Linked DNA regions of Homo sapiens: all the other regions are linked to region 1. Evidence: promoter capture Hi-C in 16 types of primary human blood cells and fetal thymus (Javierre and others, 2016). All regions are on one chromosome and are shown on one strand. Each heading gives the region's core, a stretch centred on a gene start or on the middle of the fragment in contact. The rest is flanking DNA. Distances are from core to core; before and after follow the strand shown.

Evidence for each region. Contacts are between HindIII fragments. The CHiCAGO score rates a contact against its expected background, and 5 or more counts as called.
Region 2: a contact is called between a fragment that was not itself captured here and the fragment with the promoter of PIK3CA in region 1, in 1 of 17 cell types (naive CD4 T cells). The highest score is 5.4, in naive CD4 T cells.
Region 3: a fragment that was not itself captured here is called in contact with the fragment with the promoter of PIK3CA in region 1 in 6 of 17 cell types (fetal thymus, monocytes, naive CD8 T cells and 3 more); the score reaches 9.8 in fetal thymus.
Region 4: a fragment that was not itself captured here is called in contact with the fragment with the promoter of PIK3CA in region 1 in 1 of 17 cell types (fetal thymus); the score reaches 5.5 in fetal thymus.

The regions. Positions count from the first base shown.
Region 1 is chr3:179,146,475-179,149,771 of GRCh38, reverse strand. It overlaps PIK3CA (phosphatidylinositol-4,5-bisphosphate 3-kinase catalytic subunit alpha), which reads right to left and starts at 1,415. Exons shown (of 21, transcript NM_006218.4): 1 at 1,169-1,415. PIK3CA-DT (PIK3CA divergent transcript) reads left to right here and starts at 1,799. Exons shown (of 3, transcript NR_125401.1): 1 at 1,799-1,856. RefSeq lists silencers at 791-840, 901-1,370 and enhancers at 552-1,051, 1,861-1,980, 2,591-2,700. The HindIII fragment of the contact is 3,906 bases long and covers 167-3,297 here.
Region 2 is chr3:177,174,768-177,178,186 of GRCh38, reverse strand. The region is part of intron 1 of TBL1XR1 (TBL1X/Y related 1); the gene reads left to right. Among named protein-coding and RNA genes, the nearest start is that of TBL1XR1, 21 kb to the left of the region's middle. The HindIII fragment of the contact is 2,860 bases long and covers 82-2,941 here.
Region 3 is chr3:180,908,559-180,911,706 of GRCh38, reverse strand. No RefSeq gene overlaps it. Among named protein-coding and RNA genes, the nearest start is that of FXR1, 2.5 kb to the left of the region's middle. RefSeq lists an enhancer at 1-46. The HindIII fragment of the contact is 8,016 bases long and covers 1-3,148 here.
Region 4 is chr3:177,357,055-177,360,320 of GRCh38, reverse strand. No RefSeq gene overlaps it. Among named protein-coding and RNA genes, the nearest start is that of LINC00501, 64 kb to the right of the region's middle. RefSeq lists enhancers at 146-440, 1-792, 1,466-1,760, 1,647-1,886, 2,007-2,206. The HindIII fragment of the contact is 2,538 bases long and covers 523-3,060 here.

The DNA.
Region 1 (3,297 bases), core at 166-2,665:
TGGTTCAAAAGTCGCAGTAGAAATAATCCCCTGAGATAACCTGGAATTTACCTACCCAAGTATTCTAAGGGGTTCTCCCCGGCCACACAAACTATGATTCAAAACATCGTTCCGAAAACCCAGGTCCTGCATGTGCACAAAGGCGCAGTGCTGGAATGAGGAAGCTTCACCAAGATGAAATCACAACTCTAATTCATTAAAGAATATGCAGACTGTTTTCTAGAAAGACCCTCTTGTTGCGCTCCCTTTACCCTACCCTTTATTTAACCATGTAAACAGTCTCAATTATTGACATAAAAAAATAGCTTTCGATTCCCAAGTCTGGTAACACGGTTGGCCACCATCACTATTCCTTTAGCATCCTAAAATAAACCCCTCGAGCCGAGGTCAAAAACACGCCGGCTGAACGTCTGGTGTTTACATAGCCCAATCCCGGGCCCTACCCTACCTTTCCGAGCCACTTAAGAGCCATGGAACAGGCATCACATAATACACTTAGTAAAGAGACAAGTCACATGAGTCAGTGTCTCAGGTCTATGAATGAAAGATCTAAGCGTTTGTCTCAGCTAAAAGGAAAAAACAACCTCGAAAGGAAGGGTGGGAGGGGAGCTGGCGGGGGTGAGGGGAGCGGTGTTCCTTCCATACCCCTGCCGGGCGATTTAAACCCAGTAAGAGGCAAACGCAGGGCCGCCAGGCTGGCGGGGCCGGAGTCCTCGGGCGTGACAGCCCCTCAAGAAAAGCTCGCGGTTTCGCGCCCGCGTCCCTTGAGCCGCAGTCCTCGCGGCAGCCCCTCCACCCGCGGGCTGGGTGGGCGTGCAGGGCGCGGGAGACAGAGCCACCGCGGCCGGGGCGGCGGCCCTGGGCGCACTTCCTCAACCTCCAGCCGCCCCGTCCCCAAAACTGGGAGTAGAAGCAAAGGAAGAGCGAGGCGGCAGCCAGAGAGAAAGGAGAGGGAGCGGCGAGCCCTCGCCTCTGCAGCTAGGAGAGGCCAGAGGCAGGCGAGGGAGAGGGTGCGGCGATCGCAGGCGAACTCCGCCGCGGGCCGACGCTGGGAGACGACCAGCCCGTAGCCTCCGCCCAACACGGCGGGCGCGCCCGGGAGTCTCCGGCACCCACCCGGTCCCCATTCCCACCGCACCCGCTACCGGCCAGTCCGCGCTCTACTCACGCTCGGGGCTCTTCCAGGCTCCGCGGCTCTAACCGCATCGGGTCCCAGCCCCGCGGGCGGCGGCGGCGGCGCCGAGGGAGAGGAGAGCGGGCGGCACGGCCCCCGCCTCCCGGCCCCTCTCCCCCGCCGCTCCGGAGCTGCCCGGCCGGGCCCGAGCCCTGCCTCGCCGGCGGCCCCAGCCCCAGTCCCAGCGGCCGCGGCAGCAGCAGCCCGACACCTCAGCGGCCGCAGCGGCGGCACCGGAACTGCCGCTTTCTACTTCTCGCTCCCTCTCCTCGCTAGCCCCCGCCACACGCCCCCGCCCCCGACTCCTTTCTCCGTCGCCCCTGTTTTTTTTTCCTTTTGTTTCCAGAATAAACTTTATTGGTCTCTTTTTCCGCTCACATCGTGTAAACAAACAACGAACTCTTCCCCACCCCCTCGGCCCCCCCCCTCCTCCGGCAGAAGAGGGTAAGAGCTGAGGAGGGGCAGAGCCTACAATCCCCCGGAAGCAGATGCGCAAAGAAGCGGAAGCGAAATTGAGGCGAGGAGGAGCAGGGAGTGGGCAAATAGGGTAACAATATGTGCTACTGCGCCTGCGTCTTGCTTTTCCGCCCGAAGTTTATGTACAGTTGGGGCTGCTCTTCTGACGTTTGTTTAATGATCCGTCTTCTGCAGTAGTGAGGGTGTTGTGTCATCCTAGGACAGCGTACGTGTAGTATATTTGTTTCTACGAGCAGCAGGCGAGCTGGGGTAGAGATATAGAAAGGAATATTGGGAGCAAGTGGGTTATTTCACTTTTACACCCATAGAGGAAACGAGATTAGTTCGGGGGTGAGAGGAGGTGCGGTGGCTAACCGCCGCTGTCAGTGGCTAACCAGCGTGGTTATGGATTCTATAATAGAAAGAATGCTTTTTACAAAGCGTTGCTGTGCGTTCTTCTGCCGACATGGTTTAAGTTGTATACCATCCCGAAGGCGGAATGCACTGTCACAGCCCTCTGCAGTCCTTTGACTCACTTCGTGGAGACCTTTTGCTATGCCCTCATTTTTTTTTTTAAATCGAATTCTGATTCGAAGCAGCTTGTAGGATTCAATTCTAACTATTCAGAAGACGTGGGGGATTTTTCGCGTAATGCCAACAGAGACTTCAGAAATGTCATATAGGCTATAGATTTGATTCAAGGTAGTGTCTTGGTGCTGCGTACCTTAGAAGTCTGTTTGCTTGAGAGTAAATCAATCTGTTGACTTTTGAGATTACTACTGATAAGGGTTCGGTACTGTGCGTTTTTCTCCCCCTACTGGTCTTTTGTTGTAATATTGGAAAAGCGTAGGAGCAGTGATTAGAAGTCTGAGATACAAGTACTCCAGCATCGGTTCCTCCTTGAATTTTTAAGTAATAGAGGGCTTGGGAAGTGACCCATCCTAGAGATGTTACAGTCCTACTTGTCCTCTAGAGCAAAACTCTGACCAATAACAGTCTTCTCGAACACCGCACGTCCGTCCATACCCCAATGGTAAATGAGATGGATCTGTTCCTCTTTGTGGTCGTAGTTTCACTTGACTGTATTTCTTTCTTTTCTGTGTTTTCTTTCTTTCGTCCTTTTTCTCCCTTTAGCTCGGATTTTCATCTCACATTCCAGGGGTTTGTGTTTCTAAATGTTTTTCTCGAACCAATGTTCTTCAACAGTTTTAGAACACTGTTACTCCAGAGTACAGATTTTTTTAAAAAAGGAACACTGAATTGCTAGTCAAAGTAAATTTTAAGGCAATATATCCCAAATTGTGTTTCAAGCACAGAGTTATATGAGATATTAATAGGTAGACCTTGGTGGGGAAAAATATACTAGGGATATTTTTCCTTATAAAATTTATTATTTATTTATTATTATTATTTTTTTGAGCCAGAGTCTCACTCTGTAGCCCAGGCTGGAGTTCAGCGGTGCAGTCTCGGCTCACTGCAGCCTCTGCCTCCCGGGTTCAAGCGATTCTTCTGCCTCAGCCTCCCGAGTAGCTGGGATTACAGGCACCAGCCAACATGCCAGCTAATTTTTGTATTTCTTAGTAGAGACGGGGTTTCACCATGTTGGTCAGGCTGGTCTCAAACTTCTGACTTCAGGTGATCCACCCCCCTCGACTTCCCAGAGTGCT
Region 2 (3,419 bases), core at 262-2,761, 2.0 Mb after region 1:
CTGGCCACCTCACAAACCTTATCTTGTTTCACCTTGTTCACCGTGCCCAGCCATTCCAGCTCCACACCCACTGAACAAGCTTATTCCTGTCTCAGCGTCTTAATTACTTTGTTCTTTGCCTCATACTCTGCCCTGAGATTGTTATATAGCTGATTCTTTTATGTCATTCCCTCTCAGTTCCAATGCCAACACCTCAGAGAGGTTACACTGAAATTACTGCCCACCCGCGGCAGTTTTCAGCCATCAGACCCTTATTCTCCACGTTGCAGTTTTGTCTCTCTGAAGTAACTTTGATCATTGTTTTTTTTTTTAAACGTCCCTCCAGAATTTAAACTGCATGAGAACAGGGAGGGGCTCTATTTTATGTGTCATTCTGTCTGCAGCTACCTAGAACAGGACCTAGCAGGTTCGTAATAAATAGTTGAGTGGATTGTTGTCTTAGGTATGTTTTCATGATTAGCTGGTAGTCTTAAATTGGTTCATCCTTATAATTAGAGTACTGGAAATAATTTATTAAAAGGTTAGCATTTAGGGGAGGGTCAGAAGAGGTTTTACTAAATGTTGAAATTTGGAAGCCCAGGGACATATGTGAGTGCCATACTTAAAGATGGCAATCGAGTCAAATAATAGAAAAAACGGGTAAATGGATAATTGATGGACCAATCTGAAAATGTGCTTTGTACTGATGATAATCATAAATGAGAAGTTAATGTTTTATTTTTATTTTTATTTTTTTTGAGATGGAGTCTTGCTCTGTCGCCTAGGCTGGAGTGCAGTGGCGCAATCTCGGTTCACTGCAACCTCTGCCTCCTGGGTTCGAGTGATTCTCCTTCTTCAGCCTCCTGAGTAGCTGGGATAACGGGCGCACGCCACCACACCCGGTTAATTTTTGTATTTTTAGTAGAGATGGGGTTTCACCGTGTTGGTCAGGCTGGTCTCGGACTCCTGACCTCGTGATCCGCCTGCTTTGGACTCCCAAAGTGCATGGGTCAGAACTCCTTTAGTTATATGATAGAAACTTCATGCAAACTTTTGGCTTAAGTTAAAAAGGGTATTCATTGGCATTGGCATATGGAATCCAAAAGTGGACTGATTGATTGGGAAGAGCATTGAGTCAGCTGGGATTTAGGAGCAACCGGAACCAGACCCATTTGGATGCTACCAGTAATCTCTGTCAACAGCCCTGCTATTTTCCTTTTTCAAAAAATTGAGATGGCTTCCCTTTGTTGCCCAAGCTGGAGTAAAGTGGTGCGATCACTGCCTCCTGCAGCCTTGACCTCCTGGGCTCAAGGAATCCTCCCACCTCAGCCTCGTCAGTAGCTGGGACTACAGACGTGCCCCACCATAGCCAGCTAATTTTTAAATTTCTTTTTTGAGACAGAGTTTTTCTTCTGCCCAGGCTGGAGTGCAGTGGCGCAATCTTGGCTCACTGCAACCTCTGCCTCCCGTGTTCAAGTGACTTTGCTGCCTCAGCCTCCTGAATAGGTGGGATTACAGGCATGCGCCATCACGCCTGGCTAATTTTTTGTGTTTTTAATAGAGATGAGGGTTTCTCCATGTTGGCCGGGCTGGTCTCGAACTCCTGACCTCAGGTGATTCACCTGCCTTGGCCTCCCAAAGTGCTGGGATTACAGGTGTGAGCCAGCTTGCCCAGCCATAATCAAACATTTAAATAATATTAGCATTTAAGAAAATTAACCAGTGGCTCACACATGTATTCCCAGTACTTTGGGAGGCCGAGGTGGGTGGATCATCTGAGGTCAGGAGTTCGAGACCAGCCTGGCCAACATGGTGAAATTCCGTCTCTATTAAAAATACAAAAATTAGCCAGGCATGGTGGCGCAAGCCTGTAATCGCAGCTACTCGGGAGGCTGAGGCAGGAGAATCGCTTGAGCCCAGGGGGCGGAGGTGTTGCAGTGAGCCGAGATCGCACCACTGCATTCCAGCCTGGGCGACAGAGCCAGACTCCATCTCAAAAACAAAAAACAAGAAAATTAACAAGTTACATATTCTGAACAACTTATTATTTTATTGATTTTTATTTATTTTACTTTTTAAATTTTCCCCCAGATATCAGTGCTGCAAATTTATTTATTTGTTTATTTTAATTAATTTTTTTTTTTTTTTAGAGACAGAGTCTCGCTCTGTTGCCCAGGCTGGAGTGCAGTGGCGCTATGTGGGCTCACTGCAAGCTCTGTCTCCTGGGTTCACCCGCCATTCTCCTGCCTCAGCCTCCTGAGTAGCTGGGACTACAGGCGCCCACCACCACGCCCGGCTAATTTTTGTATTTTTAGTAGAGATGGGGTTTCACCGTGTTAGTCAGGATGGTCTCGATCTCCTGACCTCGAGATCCGCACGCCTCGGCCTCCCAAAGTGCTAGGATTACAGGCATGAGCCACCGCGCCTGGCCTGAATAACTTATTATTTTAATGCTTCATTAGGTCACCAAAATAAGTAAATGGGTTGCCATGTAGAATAAGCCTTTTGTGACTTAAGATATTTGTTTCTGGATTTCAGTTGCTTCATCCTTAACACGTTATGTTGAATCTCTGAGAGGTTTTTTCTGGACCTAATGTTCTTTAACCCTATGATTGCATATATAATTTAAAAAATTAAGTGTGTTCACCCAAATTACAGGGAGTGTGTACAATACTGATCTCTGCCTGCACTGGTTTTTCTTAAAACATTTGCGTTTTCCAGGCACGTTCTCAATTTTGAATACATTAGTCTCAAAATATTTTTTAGATATCTGAAGAGGAAACTTCTATTTTATTCATTAAACTTGTGAGTTCAGGTGCATTTGTTACATTCTGTTTCATGGAAGAGAGAATTAAAATAATATCACCAAACACATTTTTGAGAATGATTTTTTTTCCTTTAATATCTTTATTTTCATGGTATGATTCCTGAATGTCAAAGCCAATTCTTCAGCAGCTAAGCTTTTATTTTGCTTTGTCTTGGAAATTGTGTACTAAAACTGTGTTTGTTAAGTAGTACAATACAATGTTATTCACATTTATAATCTTCTAAATACTAAAATAAGTTTCAGGAGCTGCTTATATTAAGTGCTAATTGAGAACCAGTGTACATTAAAATAATTTACCATAAAAAATAAGACATGAGAAGAAGGCAGGTGTCAGGGAATAAAGATGCCAAACAGTTTGGTCTTTTCTGGCAAACAGTTTTGTTTATGTCTAGCGTACAGTTTTTAAGTTGGTAAATGATGAGAAGGAGCTGGAAATTGGTAAGCAGGGCTCATATCATAAAGTGACTTCTTTGCTGTGCCTAAGGACATTCTTCTGACCGTAATAGGAACTAGTGAAGGATTTTAAACGGAACGGCAGGATTATGTTTCAACCTTGGATGTGTAGTGTGTGAAGGATGAGATGAGGATTTGGGAGGGAAGGGCCTTAGCTCTG
Region 3 (3,148 bases), core at 405-2,904, 1.8 Mb before region 1:
CTTTGCTAACATTCTATACTTCCCATGAAACGCCCACTGACCCAGTTTTTCAGATTCTAAAAAAATAAAATGTACACAACATTTTATGAGCACGTCTGCATCTCTGAAGATTCTGGGAAAAAATGAGGGCTGTGAAAGTGCTCACTGTTGTTATGTACAGGATATTCTATTTATTTATTTATTTAGAGACAGGGTCTCACTCTGTTACCCAAGATGGAGTGCAGTGGCGTGATTACGTGGCAGCCTGGACTTCCCAGGCTCAGGTGATGCTGCCACCTCAGCCTCCCGAGTAGCTAGGACTACAATATTTATTTTATTTTATTTTATTTTATTTATTATTATTTTTTTAGACAATCTCGCTCTATCGCCCAGGCTGGAGTGCAGTGATGAGATCTCAGCTCACTGCAACCTCCGCCTGCTGGTTCAAGTGATTCTCCTGCCTCAGCCTCCGGAGTAGTTGGGATTACAGGCGCGCACCACCACACCCAGATAATCTTTTTGTGTTTTTAGTAGAGATGGGGTTTCACCATGTTGGCCAGGCTGGTCTGGAACTCCTGACCTCATGATCTGCCTGCCTCGGGATTGCAGGCATGAGCCACCGTGCCCAGCCTATGTATTCACTCCCGGCCTATTTTTTTTTTTTTTTTTAAGACAGGATCTCTATCGCCAAGGCTGAAGTGCAGTGGCACAATCATAGCTCACTGTAACCTTGAACTCTTGGCCATCCCACACTGGGCTGGGATGTTCTTTTTAAAGTGTTGATCATCATGAGAAAAATGTAAACAACTAAATGCCCATCAATGAGTAATAGCCACCATTTATTAAGGGCACCTTATGCTAACACTCTATATTGTATCTCATTGTGATCCTTCAGAATTATAATGTCCCATTTGCTTTCTTAAAAAGTTTTCTTTAGATATAATTCTCCCATTTATAATGTACAATTCAGTAGTTTTTAGTATATTCACAGATTTGTGCAACCATCACCACAGTCAATTTTAGAACATTTTCATCACTGCAAAAATAACCCCATACCTGTTAGCGTTCACTCTAGATTTAACCCCAGCTCCCCAGGCCCTAGGAAATCACTATCCTGTTTTCTACCTATATAGATTGGCCTAGTCTAGATATTTAATATAAATGAAATCGCGGAATATGTGTTGTTTTATGACTGGCTTTCTTTTTTCTTTTTCCTTTTTTTTTTTTTTTGAGACAGAGTCTCACTCTGTTGCCCAGGCTGGAGTGCAGTGGCTTGATCTCCACTCACCACAACCTCCACCTCCTGGACTAAAGTGATTCTCCCGCCTCAACCCCCTGCCCCACAAGTAGCTGGGAGTACAGACACCACCCACCACGCCCGCCTAGCCTAATCTTTGTATTTTTTGTAGAGATGGGGTTTCACCATGTTGCCCAGGCTGGTCTCGAACTCCTAAGCTCAAGTTATCCACTGCCTCCGCCTCAGCCTCCCAGAGTGCTAGGATTACAAATGTAAGCCACTGCACCTGGCCTATGATTGGCTTCTTTCATTTAGTATAATGTATTATAGTTTCATCCATGTTGTAGAATGTATTACTACTCATTCCTTTTTGTCAAATATACTGTTGTATGGATATACCACATCATTTTATTTATTAATTCATCAATTGATAGAAGTTTGCTTTGTTTCTACTTTTTGGCTGTTAGGAATAATGCTGCTATGAAAATTGCTGTATATGTTTTGGTATAGACAGATGTATGTTTTTGTTTCTCTTGGGTATATAGCTAGAAATGGAATTGCTGACTCGTGATAACTCCATGTTTAAACCTTTTGAGGAATTGCCAGACTTTTCCAAAGTGGCTGCATTATTTGCATTCCCACCAACAGTGTATGAGGGTCCCAGTGTGCTTTTCTTTATGGGTTCCCCTCTCCTTTCCTGTCCTCCCCTCCCCTCCCTTCTCTTCCTTTTCTCTTCTCTCTTCTCTCCTCTCTCTCTCTCTGTTTTGGCTTTCAGTGTATTTTTTGTTTGTTCTCAATGTGAGTGATTTTGAGTATGGATGCGAAAGTTCCACTTGGGCACAGGCCAAAGCATCTCATACTGCCTGAACTCTAAAGAATAAGTATTGTCCCTCTTCAGGCCTTGCATAGCGAAAACATTTGAATTTGGAACCCAGCCAACACTTTACTACTTCTTCTAGGTAGACTTCGTGATTTCAATTAAGCAACTGAGCCCTATAGCAACCAGTAACACATGTAAGATCAGACAAGCTGTAAGTGTCAGAACTACGATTTGAGCCCTCTTACTTTCCATTTCCAGTGCCACATCAATGACTGTTTGCAGCCTCCATATAATATTCAAAATGGGACATTACACAAACTTTAAAATTTTGATGTAGATCTATTTTCATCATCATAAAAAGATGTTCACTTTAAAGAATGTCACAAAACACCATACATAATCATATTAAAATATATATGCAGTGTGTATATACATATATAAAGTCTGAAAGTTAATATTTCCATATATTATTAGAGGATATTTCCAGAAGATGGGCTAATGATTTACGTAAACTATATAATGTCTATATTTTTTGCCTCATCTGAATTTTTCACAATGAGCATGTTACCTGATCAAAAAAAAAAAAGTTCTTTTTGGCTGGGCACAGTGGCTCATACCTTTAATTCCAGCACTTTGGAAGGTCAAGGCAGGGGGATCACTTGAGGCCAGGAGTTTAAAGCCAGGCTGGGCAACATAATGAGAGCTCGTCTCTACAAAAGCGACAAAAGTTAGCAGGGCGTGGTGGTGTGCACCTGTAGTCCAGGCTACTCAGGAGGCTGAGGCAGGAGGATTGCTTGAGCCTGGAGGTCGAGGCTGCAGTGAGCTGTGTTTGCACCACTGCATTCCAGCCAGGGCAACAGAGCAATACACTGTCTCAAAAAAAAAAAGATATTTTCATTTTTAAATACTATACCATGGAATCTTCTACAGCCACTAGCAATGAAATTATAGAAGACTATCTACTGATATGAGAAGATGTCTATAACTGTAAAAAGCAGCTTATATATGCAACCAATTTTGTACAGGATACATATATGTATATTGCATGAAAATGTATTACAAAGACTTTACCAAAATGCTAACAGTGGTTCTCTTAGGGTAGTGGCATCATG
Region 4 (3,266 bases), core at 542-3,041, 1.8 Mb after region 1:
TATCTAAAGTGCATCTGCATTTAGTGAAGCAAAAGCTCATAGTCTGTTTCTAATTTGTGCCTTGCAGATGCCCTCCCCACTAGGGAAAGGCCTGGCTCTGAGCAGCCGCCCCTCCCCGAGGCCGCCAAGCTCCCAGTTCAGGCCCTTTCTTGGGCAGCCGGAGTGCTCCTCTCTTAGATAATGCCAGGTACTCTGGAAAGTAGCCGTGTAATAATACACAAACCCCTGATGATGTCAGCGTGTTATTGACTTTCCAAGTCTGAATGACTGAGCAGAGGAGCGGGGGTGGGGCGCAATCCATCCGGCAGCGCGGAGACCGGCCAAGCGAAAATGGGCTCGCCAGCCTGGCGGGGGAGGGGCGGCTCGCAACAGCGGCGGCTGCTTCGAGCTCCGGCTCTGCCGCCGCGGCGTCGGGGTCGCTGCCGCCCAGCCCAGGCGGGGCTCGGGTTCCCGCTCCTCTGATGTTTACGTTTGGTCAAAAACTCCTCAGACAGAAATAACTAATGCCTCCCCCCGGAAGCTTTTACCACGTGGCAGAGTGGGGTCACAAAGGGGGGAGCAGTGGCACGAAGGGGATGGGGAGGAAGACCTCCCTGTTCCCTCCCCCACCCTGCAGGGGCCTTCCTCTTAGGCTGCAGAGCCGAGGGTCGCTCTCCGTGGTGGAGTTCCCTCTGCAGAAGACCCCTGGAAAATTGCACTTCAGCAGTGGTGACATTTTATAGGCCATGATTTGCTGCATTTATGGCTCTGGCAGTGCAGGTGCGGAGTCGTAGGCTCCCGTTCTCACCCTGCAAATTGCTCACAGTGCAATCTGTCATCTTCAAGGCTAGGTGTGAACCGGGCAGGGTTGCCCTTAAAACGGAATTGCAGTTAAAGGCCGGGATCTGGAAGGAAGCGCTCTACCCCGGGGCGTGGCCTTTCCCACCGGCTCTGGACCTTTCCTTCAAGCCCCGCCATGCGCGCCCACCGACTTGGCTGTCGCAGCCTGGGGGCACTGGGCGCCCTGGGCTCTGCCTGCCTGCAGAGCTCTCATTCTTTCCGTTCCAGGCCTGTGGAATCCTCCAGTGAACAAGGCCTCATGCTGGCCTCTGCCCCACCCCACTGCGAGGAGCCGCTCCTCCTCCGAGGCCTATGGTTTTTCTCCCCGCGGAGTGGGCTTGGTGGGAGCACCGCGTGGCGCAAACAGCACGGGGGGACTTTGGAATCGCCTGGACTTGAGCCCTGCCCCACCACGTGTTCGCTGTGTGAATGTGGACAGGGTGGTTACCCTCTCTACAGCCCGCGTCTTAAAATGGGAGTAGTAACAACCCCCTCAACAGTTGTTCTGAGGATTAAGTGAAATTCAGATTTCATAGGAGACCTTTTTCAATAGTCAAGTCTCTCGCCTTTATGAGTCAAGTTCCACTGGGGCCAGAGGCCCTGTGGTTGTTTCTGAAAACAAGGTCAGCAGAAGTGCTAGACCCATTGTTTCCTCAACTCAGCCCTTCCCCCTACACTCCTGGCAAAGTGGAGCCCGCAGCCTCTTCCGACCCACTTCCACCTTCACCCACACCCACAGGCTTACAGGGCAGAGCTGTTTTGTTGACGGGGCGGGGGTGGGGGTGGGGACGTGGAAACTGTACCTCTGACCTAAGCTGGACCATTCACGGCCCTTCTCAAATTTCCCTCCCCCACCTTGCCACAGGGGATTGGTCCCAGCGGGAAGAGCTGACATATTTGAATCCAATCAAAAGCCTTCTTGGGAAATTTTGAAACTGGAAGTGAAAAAGTCAGTTTCTCCCCAGGGCTAAAACTGCAAGATATTATAACATACATGACCATGTTTCCCATGGTCAGGAGAGGAGAGGCAAGGCCAATCTGAAGGCAGAAACAGAGATAAAGATCGAGCAGAAAACAAAGATAGAGCCTCAGCCACAGCCAGACAGGCTGGGAGAGAGCGCTGAGGCCAACAGGAGTCTAATGTTATTGGCAGCATCGGTTCCTGTGTCCCTGGTACAGCCCTGCCTGCCCCCGATTCCTTGCGACAGCCCATTATTTTTTGCCACAAATTCTTATTGTTTAACCTAGTTTGTGTTTTTGTTGCTTCTAATCCAAAAATCCCATGGCATTTACTAGTTTAACTTACACAGTATGTCAGTTGAGTTCAAGAGCTCCCCAGCCCCATTATAACCCCCCGAGAAGTCTTCTATCCTCCGCAGCATATGTCAGTGCCCCATAACAAGGTGCTCAATAAATGCTCTTCAGATTGCACTGAGCAAGTTGTGAGTGGACGGGAAGTGCCCTGGTGGCTGTTGAAACTGGAGGCTTCAACTGGTTAATTTAAAGGGGAAGCATCGCCAATTGCCACAGACTTCTAGAAGCCCATTTATTGTACCCTAGTGGTAATTAGGGCTTATTCAAGTGAATAGAAAGAGAAAAGAGAAGAAACTTTATCCCCTCTAAATTGCATTTAATAAAAATCTTGGAGAAAATGAGTGAATTGTCAGGCTTAATAATTTCCCCTGGGTCTTTGTTGGAGGGAGGCTGAGGAAATGTACAGTATTCTACATTTATAGGACAGCAGATCTGCATTTTAACAGAGTAAAATGCAGTCGTGGCTTACCCTCCTTTTTTCCCCCTTCATTTGTTTCCAAAGGGTTTTTTTCCAGCTCATGAGTCACTTCCAGTCAGATTCAAAGACAAAAGCCGGCTAATTGTGTGTCCATGAGTCAGGGTCCCACCCTGCCTTATCTGAACACCCTTTCTAGCTCTGAGAAGACAGAGCAATTTTCAGCCTATAAGGCATTGAGTGGAACCTGTTACACACCGCTTCTGGGTCAGGCTCTTTAGGGAGCAGTCCAGGCCCTTCCATTTCCTTCTGGCATCTGGCAGCTGATAGCACCTTGGGGTGTTTCCTTGCCAGTGTTATTTTCAGTCAGGAACTGTGCAGTCTACCCTGTTCCTAAGGCACCCTGTTGAGCCCAGAGAGATAAAGGTGAATTTAAAAGGAGGTCTAAACCCTCTAGCAATTTATCATATAATGAAGGAGAAAGGCAGAAAAGAATCACTGTTAGACAAGCTTTGAGGGTTATGGAAGAGTAAGTGCTAAGACTAATGATTTCTCAGTCTGCACCCCTTGCTGTCTCTCAGCAGCATTTTATCTGGTTGACTTTCCAACTACTTGAAACATTTTATTTCCAGACCTCCCTGATGTTACTTTGTTTTCCAAGCAGTGTCTATTTCCCACCCCCACTTTTTCTCTTATCCTTATGCCTTACATTCTCCCT